2 separate regions of the Homo sapiens genome follow, and region 1 is linked to region 2. Evidence: promoter capture Hi-C in 16 types of primary human blood cells and fetal thymus (Javierre and others, 2016). All regions are on one chromosome and are shown on one strand. Each heading gives the region's core, a stretch centred on a gene start or on the middle of the fragment in contact. The rest is flanking DNA. Distances are from core to core; before and after follow the strand shown. Region 1 overlaps RNGTT (RNA guanylyltransferase and 5'-phosphatase). Region 2 holds the start of CNR1 (cannabinoid receptor 1).

Evidence for each region. The method cuts DNA at HindIII sites, captures the fragments that hold promoters and counts their contacts. A CHiCAGO score of 5 or more calls a contact.
Region 1: a contact is called between a fragment that was not itself captured here and the fragment with the promoter of CNR1 in region 2, in 2 of 17 cell types (naive B cells and total B cells). The highest score is 7.3, in naive B cells.

Annotation. Positions count from the first base shown.
Region 1 is chr6:88,774,105-88,781,645 of GRCh38, reverse strand. The region is part of intron 12 of RNGTT (RNA guanylyltransferase and 5'-phosphatase); the gene reads left to right. Among named protein-coding and RNA genes, the nearest start is that of RNGTT, 190 kb to the left of the region's middle. The HindIII fragment of the contact is 233 bases long and covers 4,573-4,805 here.
Region 2 is chr6:88,162,296-88,169,274 of GRCh38, reverse strand. CNR1 (cannabinoid receptor 1) reads left to right here and starts at 2,928. Exons shown (of 2, transcript NM_016083.6): 1 at 2,928-3,472. RefSeq lists silencers at 1,802-2,001, 2,072-2,511, 2,572-3,251. The HindIII fragment of the contact is 6,129 bases long and covers 1-4,488 here.

The DNA of each region.
Region 1 (7,541 bases), core at 3,440-5,939, 610 kb before region 2:
AAGATGAAGATTTGGGAGTAATTTTCATTGTAAGTGTATTTGGAGTCTTAGAGGAGTGGATGCTGTATAATGTGTAACAGTGAAAAGACAAATAATAGATTCTTGAAGAATGTGCGTTCATAATTGATTCCATTGTTTTACTGTCTCTAGTAGCATTACTGTCTAGGATTTCTAAAGTTTTCTTTAAAAATAAATGCTGTAATAAAACTAATATTATAGTAAGGACAGGGATCTTTCTTAGCTTCAGATGTGATCTTTGTGAAGAAGGCATTATGTCTCAGGTTTTACTGTAGAACCTGGTGATAACTACTCACATTTTACTAGTGGAAATAATAGAATAACATAAGCCTGCAAGGTGTTTTTAGATATCTCTGGTCTAGATATCCTGTTTTAGGCAAGCAAAATGCTATTATTGCATTTTTACAAATGAGATAGATAAAGCCCACTTTGAACTTGCTTAAAATAATTACGTTAGTAGAGGCAAAGAGGGACTAAATACGTTGCTCCTTTGCCGTTACTAATGCTAGCTTCATTTACATCAGGTTTTCTCAGCCTTGGCACCATTGACATTTTGGGCTAGAATTCTTTGTTGTGGGCAGCTGCCCTGTGCTTTGTAGGATGTTTAGTAGCATATCTAGCCTTTAACCACTAGATGGCAGTAGCACCCCCTCCCCACCTCTTGTTCAACCAAAAATGTCTCCACGCATTGCCAAATATCCCTTGGAGGCAAAATCTCCCCTAGTTGAGAACCAGTGCTTTACACCACAAATATATATCATGTATACCTCCAGTTAGCTTCCTGTCCACCTTAGTTTTACAGACTTCTCTTTGGCATATGGCCATCTTCTACCTCTAAGCCAGGTTCTGTTCTCATCTGGTCAACACTTTCTTAAGCATCTTATTTTGCTGCCTGACGTTTACATTTATTATGTTTTTGACTTTACAATGGCAATGGATATCTTGGGTTATATTGGTAATTACGTTTACACCTAACATATCCCCAGTTTTTTTTTGACAGCTCACCTCATACAATCAGATTTATTTCTATAAACTAAGTATTGTATTTATCAGTTAACTATAGCTCTGATAATTATTTTAACCTAGATACATGCTGGTAAATTGAATTATATTACTCTGACTATACACGAGAACATGTAGAATGGTGTTTTTATATCCTTGTTTATAGTTCAGCAAGATTCTGTATTTCAAGTTTGATAAATCATAAATATTTATTTCTAAAAGGCTTATTCAGTTTCTGTATTTGTAATATATTTGCTCTTATTATTTTGGGGATCATGAAAAAGGGATTATTTGGTAGTGATTTATATAATCTTTCATAAATATTGTTAGCTTATTTCATAATCTCAGATATTTCATTTTTAAATTAAGTGTACCTGAGACAGATATTTTTGTAGTAAGTTTTGAAATTCTGTATTTTTAATTATTTTATTAAAGTATTTGAGCATTTTACTAGGTGTTTTGTAGGCACAAAATTGATGTGATTTTTTCTGAAGTAGAATTACATTCTAATGGGTATTTCAATATATTTTACTCATAGAATCTGTGTCATTGTTGAATCTACATTCAATAACTGGGAGCTACAGTATTCTTAAAATACCATTTTCTAGATTAATTAATTAATTTATTTATTTGAGACAGAGTCTCACCCTATTGCCCAGGCTGGCGTGCAGTGGTGTGATCTTGACTCACTGCAACCTCTGCCTTTCAGGTTCAAGCAATTTTCCTGCCTTGGCCCCCCCAGGTGGCTGGGACTACAAACATGCACCACCATGCCTAGCTAATTTTTGCATTTTTAGTAGAGATGGTGTTTCATCATGTTGGCCAGGCTGGTCTTGAACTCCTGACCTCAGGTGATCTGCCCGCCTTGGCTTCTCAAAGTGCTGGGATTACAGACGTGAGCCACTGCACCTGGCCCCATTTTCTAAAATTTTATAATCATTAATTTTCATAAAGGTGCTTTGAAATTCCTAATAATATCAAGTCTAGTATTCCAAATTAATATGAATGATTTGATGTGCAATGAGATGAGGAGTTACTTAAGTTTCTGAATTATTGCTGTGTAAAAACAGAAGAGTTGATACATGTTGTTTTCTTATTAGACAAAATTGAGTCTTGATTTCCAGGCAAGAGAATGTGAATGATATTTAATATCTGTTATATAAATAAAATTACATATTAAAGCTTTTTAGAATTTATCATTAGGTACCTATTAGGAGATATTTTAAAACTATACCATCATTCAACTTTTCTAGATTTAATAACTTAGATTGATATTGGTTTCTAAGTGTTCTTGTAGTCACTTACTATAAACAAGTAGGAAACGGAACTAAAGGATGATTTGCCTGTAAGTATGAAATTTCCTTGGCAGAGGTTGCAAATGCGGTGGGATGTGCATAGTGTGTTTCAAGCTACACAAACTTACTCTTTTTCTTGGGCCTATTCTCTCTTGCTGACACTCCTTTCTCCCCTTACTTTTTTTGACCCTTTACTACTGTAATGAGCCACTGTTACTTAAAGGCCTGTGACTTTTCTGTCAAATAAGCTTTACTAGGAAAATGACTATATTTTATCAGATTCTCTTCACTAATGGGTTGACAATGGGAAAATGTTGCAGTTTCAACATTCCAAAAAAACTTTCTAAAGAGATTTATTTGTGATTATCCTGAAGCATGTATGTTACCTAAATAAATCTCTCAGGGCAAATATATGGAAGAAAATTTCCACTGAAAAATTATATATTTGATTTTATACTTACTCATGCTTCAATACAAAACTTGAGGGAAAATAATGTGCATTATTTTCTTACACGTGGCACAGTTAAAAGGTGTTTCCTATCAATTCCAATGATTTTTTCTTTCTTAGCAAAACTTAAATTATATTGAATCGTCATTGTATGGACTTCCGTTTGAAGTAAGCAATCCTGTGATTATGATTTTTGCAGTTTTAAATAATTTATAAAAATCTGTTTGAGCTGGGTGCAATGGATTGCACCCTTCGTCTCAGCTACTCAGGAGGCTGTGGTGGGAGAATTGCTTAAACTCAGGAGTTCAAGGCTGCAGTGCTGTGACTGCACCTGTGAATAGCCACTGCATTCTAGCTTGGGCAAGATAGCAAGACTCCATATCTAATTTTAAAAATTAAATTAAAAATTTGTTAGAATGCAATTTGACTTGGATAATTTAAAAATACTAGTATTGGACACTTAGCAATTTTTCCTTCCTAAGTATTTTTCTTATAATATGGCCCCACCCTCCATAATGCACACACTGAATTGGGAGACTTGCCTCTCCTTTAGCACATCCTATATTTCTCTACTCCTGTTTTTTTGCCCATATTTACTTCATGCTGCAAATCTGCATGAGTGAATATTACCCATCCTTCAAGGCTTACAATGTTCATTCCTCTATAATCAATTTTAAGACACTCAGGTAATACCTTTTCTTTTTTTACTTTGTACTCAGAATACATTTAAAATCCCCAAGTGAGATTTATCCCTGGGTTACAAGGTTGGTATAAACATATGCAGATCAATCAATATGATATACCACAGTAACAGAATAAAAGCTAAAACCACATGATCATCTCCACAGATTCATACAAAGCATTTGGCAAAGTTCAACATCTTTTGGGACAAAAACTTCCAATAAAATAGGTATAGAAGAAAATTTTCTCAACACAAAGGCCATTTATGAAAAGGCCACAGCTAGCATCACAATTAATGGGGAAGAACTAAAAGCTTTTCCTGTAAAATCCGGTACAAGGCAAGGATTCCCCATCTTGGTGCTTCTATTCAACATAATACTGGAGCTACTAGTAAGAGCAATCAGACAAGAAAAAGAAACAACAGGCATCTAAAATGGAAAACAAGTAGTAGAATTATCTCTGTTTGCAGATGACATGATCCTATATGTAGAAAAAGACTGTTACATCAAAAAAACCTGTTAATTCAATAAAGTTGTGGGATGCAAAGTTAACATACAGAAATCAGTTACATTTCTTTACACCAATCGATAACAGCCTATCTGAAAAGAGAATGAAGAAAACAATCTCATTTACAATAGCATCAAAAAGAATAAAATACCTAGGAATAAATTTAACCAAGATGGAAGAAATTGAAGATGATACACATAAATAGAAAGATATTCCATGTTAATGAATTGGAAGATTTACATTGTTAAGATGTCCATACTACCCAAAGTGATACACAGATTTGGTGCAATCCCTATCCAAATACCAATGACATTTTTTACAGAACTAGAGAAAAACAATTCTAAAATTTGTAGGGGACTAAAAACCCTGAAAAAGCCAAAGCAATTTTGAGAAAGAAGAACAAAGTTGGAAGCATCACACTTCCTGGTTTCAAGTTATATTACTAAGCTCCAGTAATTAAAATGGTGTAGTACTGAAATAGAAACATACACATAGACCAGTGGACCAGAATAGAGGGCCCAGAAATAAACCCAAGCATGTATGTTCAAATTTTTGACATGGGCACCAAGAATACACAATGGGGAGAAGATAATCTTTTCAGTAAATGATGTTGGGGAAGCTTGAATATCCATATACAAAAGAATGAAATTGGACCCTTATACCATACACAAAAATCCACTTAAAATAGATCAAATGCCTAACTGTAACACTTGAAACTGTAAAACTCCTAGAAGAAAACATAGTGGAAAAGCTCCTTGATGTTGGTCTTGGCAATGATCTTTTTGATGTTACATCAAAAGCTCAGCCAACAACAGCAATAATACACAACTGGGACTACATGAAACTAAAAAGCTTCTGCACAACAGGAAACAATCAACAAAATGAAAAGGCAGATTGGGAGAAAATATTTGCAAAGCACATATCTGATAAGGGGATATCTATAATATTAAAGGAATTCACAACTCAGTAGCAAAAAACAAAACAAAAACAAATAATCCAAGGACTTGAATAGACTTTTTTTTTTTTTTTTCCAAAGAAGCCATGAAAGTGGTCAACAGGTGGCTGGGCATGGTGGCTCATGCCTGTAATCTCAACACTTTGGGAGGCCAAGGTGGGTAGATCACCTGAGGTCAGGAGTTTGAGACCAGCCTGAACAACATGGAGAAACCCCATCTCTACTAAAAAAAAGAAGAAAAAAAAATGCAAAATTAGCTGGGCCTGCTGGCACATGCCTGTAATCTCAGCTACTTGGGAGGCTGAGGCAGGAGAATCACTTGAACCTGGGAGGCGGAGGTTGCGGTGAGCTGAGATTGCGCCACTGCACTCCAGCCTGGGCAACGAGAGGGAAACTCCGTCTCAAAAAAAAAAAAAAAGGTCAAAAGGTGTATGAAAAGGTGCTCAACATCACCAGTCACAGAGAAATGAAAATTAAAACGTCATTGAGATATTACCTCATGCATATTAAGATGGCTATTATCGAAAATACAAGATAACATACAAAATAGTTGGTGAAGGTGTGGAGAGTAAGGGTGTCCCACTGTTGGTAGGAATGTAAATTGGTACAACCATTATGGAAAACAGTATGGAGGCTCCTCAAACGATTAAAAACAAAACTAATATATGACTCAGCAGTTCCTCTGAGTATATACCAAAAGAAATGAAATTAGTACCTCATAGAGAAATGTATGCCCCCATGTTCATTACAGCATTATTTCCAACAGCCTGCATATGGAAACCACCTAAATGTCCTTCAGTGGGTCAATGAATTAAGAAATTATGGTATATTTATGCAACAGAATATTATTCAGGCTTAGAAAAAAAGATCCTGTCATTTATAACAACATGGATGGAGCTGGAGGGCATTGTACTAAGCAAGATCAGCCAGACACAGAAAGAGAAATGGTGTGTGATTTCACTTACATGTGGAATCTCAAAAAGTTGAGTACACAGAAACAGAATGCAAAAAACACCTATTATGAAGCTACTTGGTTAATAAGCTCTTTTAAATGGGGGAGAAACAAACCCAGTTGGTAACTCATTAATAACAACTTTTGATTATAGGTGATAAACTAATTCTGTACCTCCTTATTATAATTGAAACAGATATAAATTACTCTGTCAGTTCTAACTGTACCGTCTTCTGTGGTTAGAAATATAAAAAAATTAGCAAGCTCAGGTCAGAGGGAGAGCATGCTTTTTATCCCCCCTCTCAGTTGTGGGTATTCAAAGGGATTTGTTTTGTTGAAACTAGAAGCTACTGTTCAGGACTAGGAAGAAGGTTATCAGTGCTGAGGATGGGGGAGTTGGGGAGATGTAGGTTAAAGAGCACAAATTTGCAGTTACGTAGGCTGAATAAATCTGGAGGTCTAATGTACAGCACAATGACTGTACTTAATAATATTGTTTTATATACTGGAAGTTTGCCAAGAGAGTAGATTTCAGATGTTCTTGACACACATGTACACACATACAAGGTAACTGTGAGGAGATGGATAATGTTAATTTGCTTTACCATAGTAATCATTTCACTGTGTATATCAAACATTGTGTTATAATGTTATATACTTTACATATCAAAAAATTTCAATTAATTTTTCATTCTGTTGAGTAAATGCATTCCAATTAGGATACCTATAAAGTGAATATACAAATATATTGATTAGTGTGATTTATTTATATTTACATATTATATACATTAGGAAGTTATAATGCTTAAGAACACAATTATTTACAAAGCTTTTGTTTATTAAAATAATTTTTATAATCTCTAATTACATGGACAGTGTTGTACAACCACCTCCACTGTCTATTTCCAAAACCTTTTCATCATCCCAAACAGAAATCATTTAACCACTAAGCAGTAACTTCCATTTTCTTCCATACTGTAGCCCTGGGTGACCTCTAATCTACTTTCGGTCACCATGATTTTTTTCTATTTTAAATATTTCATGTAAGTGGAATCATACAATATTTTCCTTTTGTGTCTGGCTTATTTCGCTTAGCATAATGCTTTTGAGGTTCATCCGTTTGGCAGCACGTATCAAAACTTCATTCCTTTTTATATTTGGATAATATATGTATATACAACCTTTTGTTTATCTACTCACCTGTTGATGGAGACTTGTATTGTCTTTACCTTTTAATTTTTGTGAAGAATGCTTCAATGAACATTGACATACAAGTGTCTGTTTGAGTAGCTGTTTTCAGGTTTTTGGAGTGTGTACCTAGAAATGGACCTTCCGGGTCATGTGGTAATTCTGTGTTTGGCTTTTTGAGGTACTGTTAACCTTTTATCTATAGTGGCTGCACCATTTCACATTTCTATCAGCAATGTGCATGTTCTGATTTATCCACATTCTCACCAACACTTGTTAGTTTCTGTGTTTTTTTTTCTAAATTATAGTCACCCTAGTTAGTATGAAGTGGTATCTCCATTTGATTTTGATTGCATTTGTTTAATGATTAATGATAGTGAACATCTTTTCATGTGCTTATTGGCCATTTGTATATCTTCCTTGGAGAAATGTTTATTCAAGTCTTTTGACTTTTAAATTTGGGTTTTTTTGTTGTTAAGTTGTATCCATTTTAAC
Region 2 (6,979 bases), core at 1,679-4,178:
CTCTTCCAGTTGCCCCAATCCAAGGAAAAAGTACAGCAGCTCTCCTGTCTGTCAGTCTAATACCTTGACGAAAATTTAAAGATGCACATGAAGGCCCACAAGAACAGTATTTGCCAAGGAACATAACTCTCTTGTTTTTGACACAGCATTCACTTGTGGTGATAAAATGCCAGGTCATAAGTCAAATTTTGACTCCATTACTGATTATTATCCTTGAGCTCTAAATGGAAAGTCAGTACAATTCAGCTGTCAGGCTCCAGGTTTCCCCCAACCCTGAACAACAGAATAACAAACTAAACAGTTATCTCGGCTGGAGTCACTACTAGATGAGATTCCGAGTGATTGGCTCTGGCCACAGGTCACACTGGCCCATCAACGATCTTAGGTTTCTGCTTGGAATTTCATAGAATTCAGTGAAGAAACCCAACGTCAATCAGAAGATATTTGGGATGACTTAGAGACACAATAATCAGATTGTTCCTCTTTATGAAAAAGCAAAAGCTGGTGTGGCTGAGTTGAGATACAAGATTTCCATGGAATACCTTTCACAGGTTGATGCTGACCACCACGAAGGTATAGATCAACATGTGGGAAAGTGCTCCTTATAGAAGGAGCACCACCAGGGTGTGTCAGTGTTGTTTAGCTGAGTGATGTTGAACAGCTCTGCCACTCCAACAGCTCACGCCCTCCAGCTACAGGGGAGGGTGGTAGCACCCAAGTGAAATCCTGTGGCCTGAAAGCATTCTAGGAGTCCAGCTCCCCCAGGTTTCTTGTGACTGAAGATGTCCTTATCACAGTCAGAGGAAGCGCTGCCTTGATCCTTTCTTTTAATTACTAGCAGTCATTTGAAACTGAGCTGCCAGGTGGAGGAGAGACTTTGAAGTTATTGTCATCTGGCCTCTTGGGAAATCAGAGTCTGCGAGGTCATAAGGAGAGAAAATTTTTGCAAATATTTCCTACTGCCAGGGGTGTGAGGTGAAGGGAAAATCTAACAACCACGACCCCTAAAAGAAAAAAGCAACAGATGTTGAAGCCTCCTCCCTTTGAATCTTGCGCTGGAGCTGTCTCTGCCATGGAGGTGGGCTAAAAATGCCTGTGAGTAGAGCCTTCCCCAAGCAGCAGGGTTAAGGCTCAGCACTAATCCCACATCTACTATCTATCTCCCAGTCATTCTTCCATCTATCGATGGGTCCATCAGAACTTTATTGATAACCTTTTCTAACCACCCACCTAGTAGGACTTAATCATTTCAGCGGTGGACTCTCTCTCTCAATGGAGTCAAATGGTCATTTGCTTGACGGAAATACTTCTAGTCTAAAGCAGTCTAGGGGGATTTTCAAAAACTGCACTAGTGCTCTGCGGGAAGCCTTTGTACGATTTGGCCTGACGTTTCCAAAACGGTTTTACAGCCTTCCCTCCTCCAGGACCTTGAACTCAACAATCTTCCTTCTTTCCCTGAGAGGCTCGCTTTCACAGATTCTCACCACGTAGTTCAAATATAGGGTCCAGATATAGTACGGTTGCTGTTGGGGTCTGATCAGGGGCGGGAAGACCTGGAGGTCGGTAAAACGGAGCGGTGCGGGATGATGTCTGGGAACACCGGCAAGGTGTCATAAAATGAACGCCAAGGCGGCCACAAGAGGACGGCCGGGAACCGAACCCAGCGCCCAGCACGGGGCCCTTGTGGCCGACGTGACGTGGCTCCGTCAGGTGGAAACCGTGCGATCCTCTCCCGATCCAACTCACGAGAGATAAAGATGTCTAAATAACCACGACCGCCGCCGCACACCCTGCAGGGCCCCGGGGGCGGAGGGGAGGGGAGCGCCTCCTCGGCAGAAGCGGCGGCCCAGGCTTGTTTGGAGGTTCGCAATTCACCATGATAAATGTAAAGACCAATTAAGGTTTGATCCGTGCACACAGGAGGCAGACGGCGGCTGATAGTGGAAACAATTAACGAGCATGTCCCCTAATTCCTGCCGCGGCTGCTGAGCACACCGCGGCTCCCCAGGCGCCCGCCGCTGCCGCCCCCGAGTCCCAGAGCCCCCAGTCCGGCCCTGGAGTGGGGCGTCCTCCTCCAGCGAAAAGGTGCGAGGAGCGGGGCCCCGGGTGGCCGGGGAGGGGGCGCGCCGGGCCGGGAGGCGCGGAGCCAGCCGCCTACGGAGCCCAACTGTTTGCATCGGGGACCGGCGGGCGGGGCGCGCCCGAGTGGTCTCGCCGGGAAAGGGCGGCGGGCGCTGGAGAAGGCGCCTGGCGCGAAGCTGGGCGGCGCCCCGAGGGCGGAGGACAGGTGGCCGCGCGACCGCAGCCAGGTAGCGAACGGCTCGGGGGCTGCGCAGCGCGGTCCCAAAGCTCAGCCCGGCCCCGGGCCCAGCTCGCTGCCGCCTGCCACGGGAGCGGCCTTGCGCGGAGGGAGGGGGCGCGAGACCGCACCCCCGGGCCCGGCGCGCCTCGGCCTCTGGGCTCCCGCTCCCCTTCCCCTTCCGGCTCAGCCCGCTGCCCCAGACGTGACCCCCGCGGAAGGTGTTGGCGATGCGCGCTGCCCGGGAGCGTGTGATTAATGGCCCCGAGGTCGTGGGCGGCGCATGCACCAGCCCCTTCTTGGCCTGGTCAGGGTGTGAGGGTATCCGGGAGCACAGCGAGGTCATGGCAGCGGGGGCCTCCGGGAGCGCGGCGGCGGAGGAGGAGGAGGAAGAGGAGAAGTAGGTGACGCGGGCCGAAGAGGCTTGTCCCCTCTGGCCCCAGGGCTGGCGCCGCGGCGGGTCCCCCGCCCCAAGCAAAGTTTGGGGCTACGGGCGCTGCGCTCAGGTCCCTCCCCGCGCAGTTCCCTCGGCGGGGTCTGTGCCGCCGCCGCTGCCAGGGCAGGACAAAGGCTCATTAACACGTGATGGGACCGCGCTTCATAAATGGGACTGGAGCGAGAGGGAGCCAGAGACAGCGCGAGCGGAGGGAGCGGCAGGGACTGCGCGAGCGGGACGAGGCGACGGGCGCCCGGGCTGGCGGAGACGGGCGGCCCCACGCCGGGCCAGGCGGGGCTCGCGGGAGGACCCAGTGAAGAGCCTGGGAAGGGGCGAGGCTCGCCGGCGGTCGGAGCAGCGGGGCGCCAGTCCCGGTCGCTGTCGCGGGCGGGCGCTGGAGACCGGGACGCCGGCGCTCGGACGGACTGACTTGCTGACCGCCCGCCGGAGGCACACCCCACTCCACCCCACCCCGCCTCGCCAGCAGCCCGGCGCCGGCGCCGCCTCCCGCACGCTACTCCCTCTGCCACCCCTTCCTTCTCCACTTCTTTTCCGCCTCCGCCTCTTCTTGTCTCCCGCGGCGCCAGCGCCTTCCCTTGGCCCGGGCGGGGGCCTCGGCTCCCTGCAGAGCTCTCCGTAGTCAGTGGGGGATATTTCGTTCTAGCGGACAACCAGCCCCTGAGCTGGGCGAGAGGTGCCAAGGGAGCTTCTGTCCCGAGGACCAGGGGATGCGAAGGGTAAGACCTGGCAGAGTTGCGTTTGGAAATACTTTTTCCGCCTCCCGCCCCCTCGGGTACGACCAGTGTGGTCCCCAAGTGTCCTTCGTGGAGTTCTTATTCCGTGTGAGCGAATCGTGCGTCGGTGTTTACTTAGCTGTATGGCCCCAGCCTGTTAACTGTGATCTGTTCTACTTCTGGAGATTTCTACCATTTACTATTTATTGAATGTGTGTGCACCTGGCTCTGTATGCACTGATGTCTGTTTGTAGAAAATGGGTAATTGTGCATGTTTGAAAAACGGGCGCTTGAGTTGGTGCTGAATGCCTATAAACCATGTTAGCAGCTAAGTCTTCCCAGGGAAATACATCGATCTCTGCTGCAAGCCTAGAAACTGACTAATGTAAAATAGTAAATGTCATATAAAGAGATGTATGTCAAATAATAAACTTTTGATAAAAAGCTACAGGAACCACTTCTCTTTGAGGAAAAACAAATGTCCATGTAACTAATACCTAAAATTGAATGTTGATGGAACCGTTTAACTCAGAACTAGCTGTTAGATGACTAAAGTTAATGTTGCATTTTTAAAAGACATTTCTTGTTAAGGCTTACAAATCATAAACGGATCACCTCTCAAATAAAAATATGTTTGCTGTAATAGACATGAGAAACTGTCATTTGGTCATTTGGAAGTTTAAAAGCAACATGCATGTTTCTGATTTTAATAGATTGTCTCTCAGATATTTAAAATTGAACAGATAAAAAAACAAAAGAAATGTTTAGTAACGTATTAATCATTTTGCCTCCCATCTTTTTTTATTTTCCTCCAAATAAGTGCTATTCTTGCCTTTGTTGTTGATTTCCTGATATAGTAAGCCTCCTCGGGCATGTAATCCAATAAGAGATTAGAACAGATTTACTGGTTTTAAAGGTGTTGAAAGATATCTCTGTGGGTCCCATAACTTCTCCTCATTTTTATTACCAAGTTAATATCTTTTGAACAATGGGGGAAATGCAATTTCTTAGAGGAAGCTTAGCGGACACTGAGTATTAGTGGGGTCACCACTGACATCAATCTATTTTGCAGAATATTGAGAAGCTCAGAGCAACCAACCTTTAAGGTTCCCATAGGACTTTATGTGATTTAAAGTGTTGCTTTTCTAATCCTACCCTACTGACAGTTTGCAAGGGAAGATACACTAATTGATTTTTCTCTGTCCTTTTTTTCCCTGGTACTCCTCCCCCTCCCCCGCTCTCTAACTCAGTTAAGAGCAATTTTATAAAAATAAAAGGCCATTTATAGTTTCTTAAGTGAGACAAATTACTTTCAGATTATATCCATACATGAGCAGAAGACATGCACCTCCAGAATTTTAAACATTGCATACTACAGGCACTTATTTGTAGGCACAATGGCAGTTACCATAGTGGGGCAAGAGACTTGATGTGGGACATGGTTTTAAAAAACTAATCCATTTTAGCTTATCAGGAGAACTTACTGTAAACCGACTCTTTTTGTTTCAAAGATGTCTCCCACTCCAGGCGAGGAGCGCTCTTGGCTGAGGTATGTATCAAGTGTCTGATGGGGAGAGGTCTCATTGTGTTTCTCAGTGTCCATGGGGGTACAATGATGCCACAAGGTGGAAATACCCAATTCTGGCCTTTCACAAATAAAATTACTGTGCTTGCATACTCGTTGTTAGGAAAGCAAATTAGATATTCATGCCCCTGAATTTTAATAACATTAATATATGTATGTAAAAAGAATGTTATGACTAGAACCTTAAATAAGCCATAAGTGATTATTATTTAGTGTGTAAAGTTTTAAATTCTGATGAACACCAGGTCTCACATTGAAGTAGTGCTTGGCTTTGTTTGTTATCCACTGTTTTCTGTCTTTTTCTGTTACCCATTTCCCAGTGGACCATGTTCCTCTCTGTCTTGCCTGTGAGATTGCTCTTCTCTAATAAGCCTAGCTGCAGGATCAGTGTGTTCTTTTTGGCATTTCAAAATGGTAAAATAGTGAAATTGTTAAATGTTACCAAGATGAAACTGCTGGGAATGAAATTCTCAAAAAGAACCACTGTATTTGTGGCATATTTCAGCCTCTTCCAAAAGAAAACTCTTTGATTCGGTTTACCTATTTTCCCAAGAAGGAAGCAGCCCCATTGATTGTGTTGATAAGTGTTTAGTATGCAGTGTCAGCTTATTAATTACTAAGGCAAAGCCTGAGAAACTGTTTCAAAACAGTCGTATAACACTGTTCTTTGCTTTGACTCAAAATTAACATTAACCACGGGGAAATTTAGACAGGCTTCTTGGTTGTCTTGCATATTAGTGTTTGGAATTAGAAATCAAATACTTTGCTATGTAAGAATAAACTATTATGAGATGGAACTTCTAATAGCAGTTTATAGTTCACCACGCTTACCAAATGTTTCTTACCAGAAAACAGTTGGCCAAATAAGGGATTATTTCCCATAACTAGCTATCCAGGAATGCTGCAAAAACAAGAGTAACAAATTGAATTGGAAAATACCTAATGACACATAACTAGCAAAATGAAAGATTTGGTTATAGCTTCTTGAATTTATAAGAATTCTGGGTGAAAGTTATTGCTTCTTTTATTCCAGGAAATATTTTGGAGAAGTCTGAATTGATCTATGTTATAAAGTTAATCCAGTCTAATCTAAGAATATACAGTGAATTAAATGCTAATTAAAGCAATTAAAGCATGATAACAGGCAGTAACCTAAAGGACAGGCTCCATCTTACTTACCAAATTCCATGTTAGCTCAGTTGCATAAAGAACATAGATGAGAGCTTTCATTCCCTGCTGAAAAGGATGCCATGCCTCCACCAGTGTAAGTCTGTTTCTTCTATTTTTGTATTTATCATTTTCTAATTGAACTGACAAATAGTTAGAGTGAAACCAGGCTTTGGGTTTAAATTATTTATAATTCTGCTGTTGGCTCTAAAACAATGTGGACCCAACATTGTTTGAAACACTGTGCTAGGGCCAGGTTTACATACTGCATATCTGTATTTTGAGAGGCAGCCTGCTTTGCTGATTTTTCTCTTATATACTGAAGACTGGTAGAGAAGTCAAAGAATAAGAGGAAATCAAAATCAGTTTATATACTTTGTGTTGCCAAAATTTTAACTTCATGTTTTCTTCCCTGAATCTCCAGTTCTTTCCTAATCTTATCCTCAGAGAAATGGTAACTTTATATTATGGCTGCATGAATGCTGCTTTTGGGGACTTGGGGGATTCAACTTTTTGCCACTGAATTGCTAGTTAATACTTTGATAAGCATTTAATTCTCTGTATATTCTTAGATTAGATTGGATTGACTTTATAAATTCAGATTTCTCCAAAATGTTTCCTGGATTAAAAGAAACAGTAACTTCACCCAGAATATATGTATAATATCAAAGTATATATTGCGTAATTTTGGACACCTGGACATAGAAACACACTTTTATTTACATGTATAAACATTTTTATAGATGTAAATCATGACT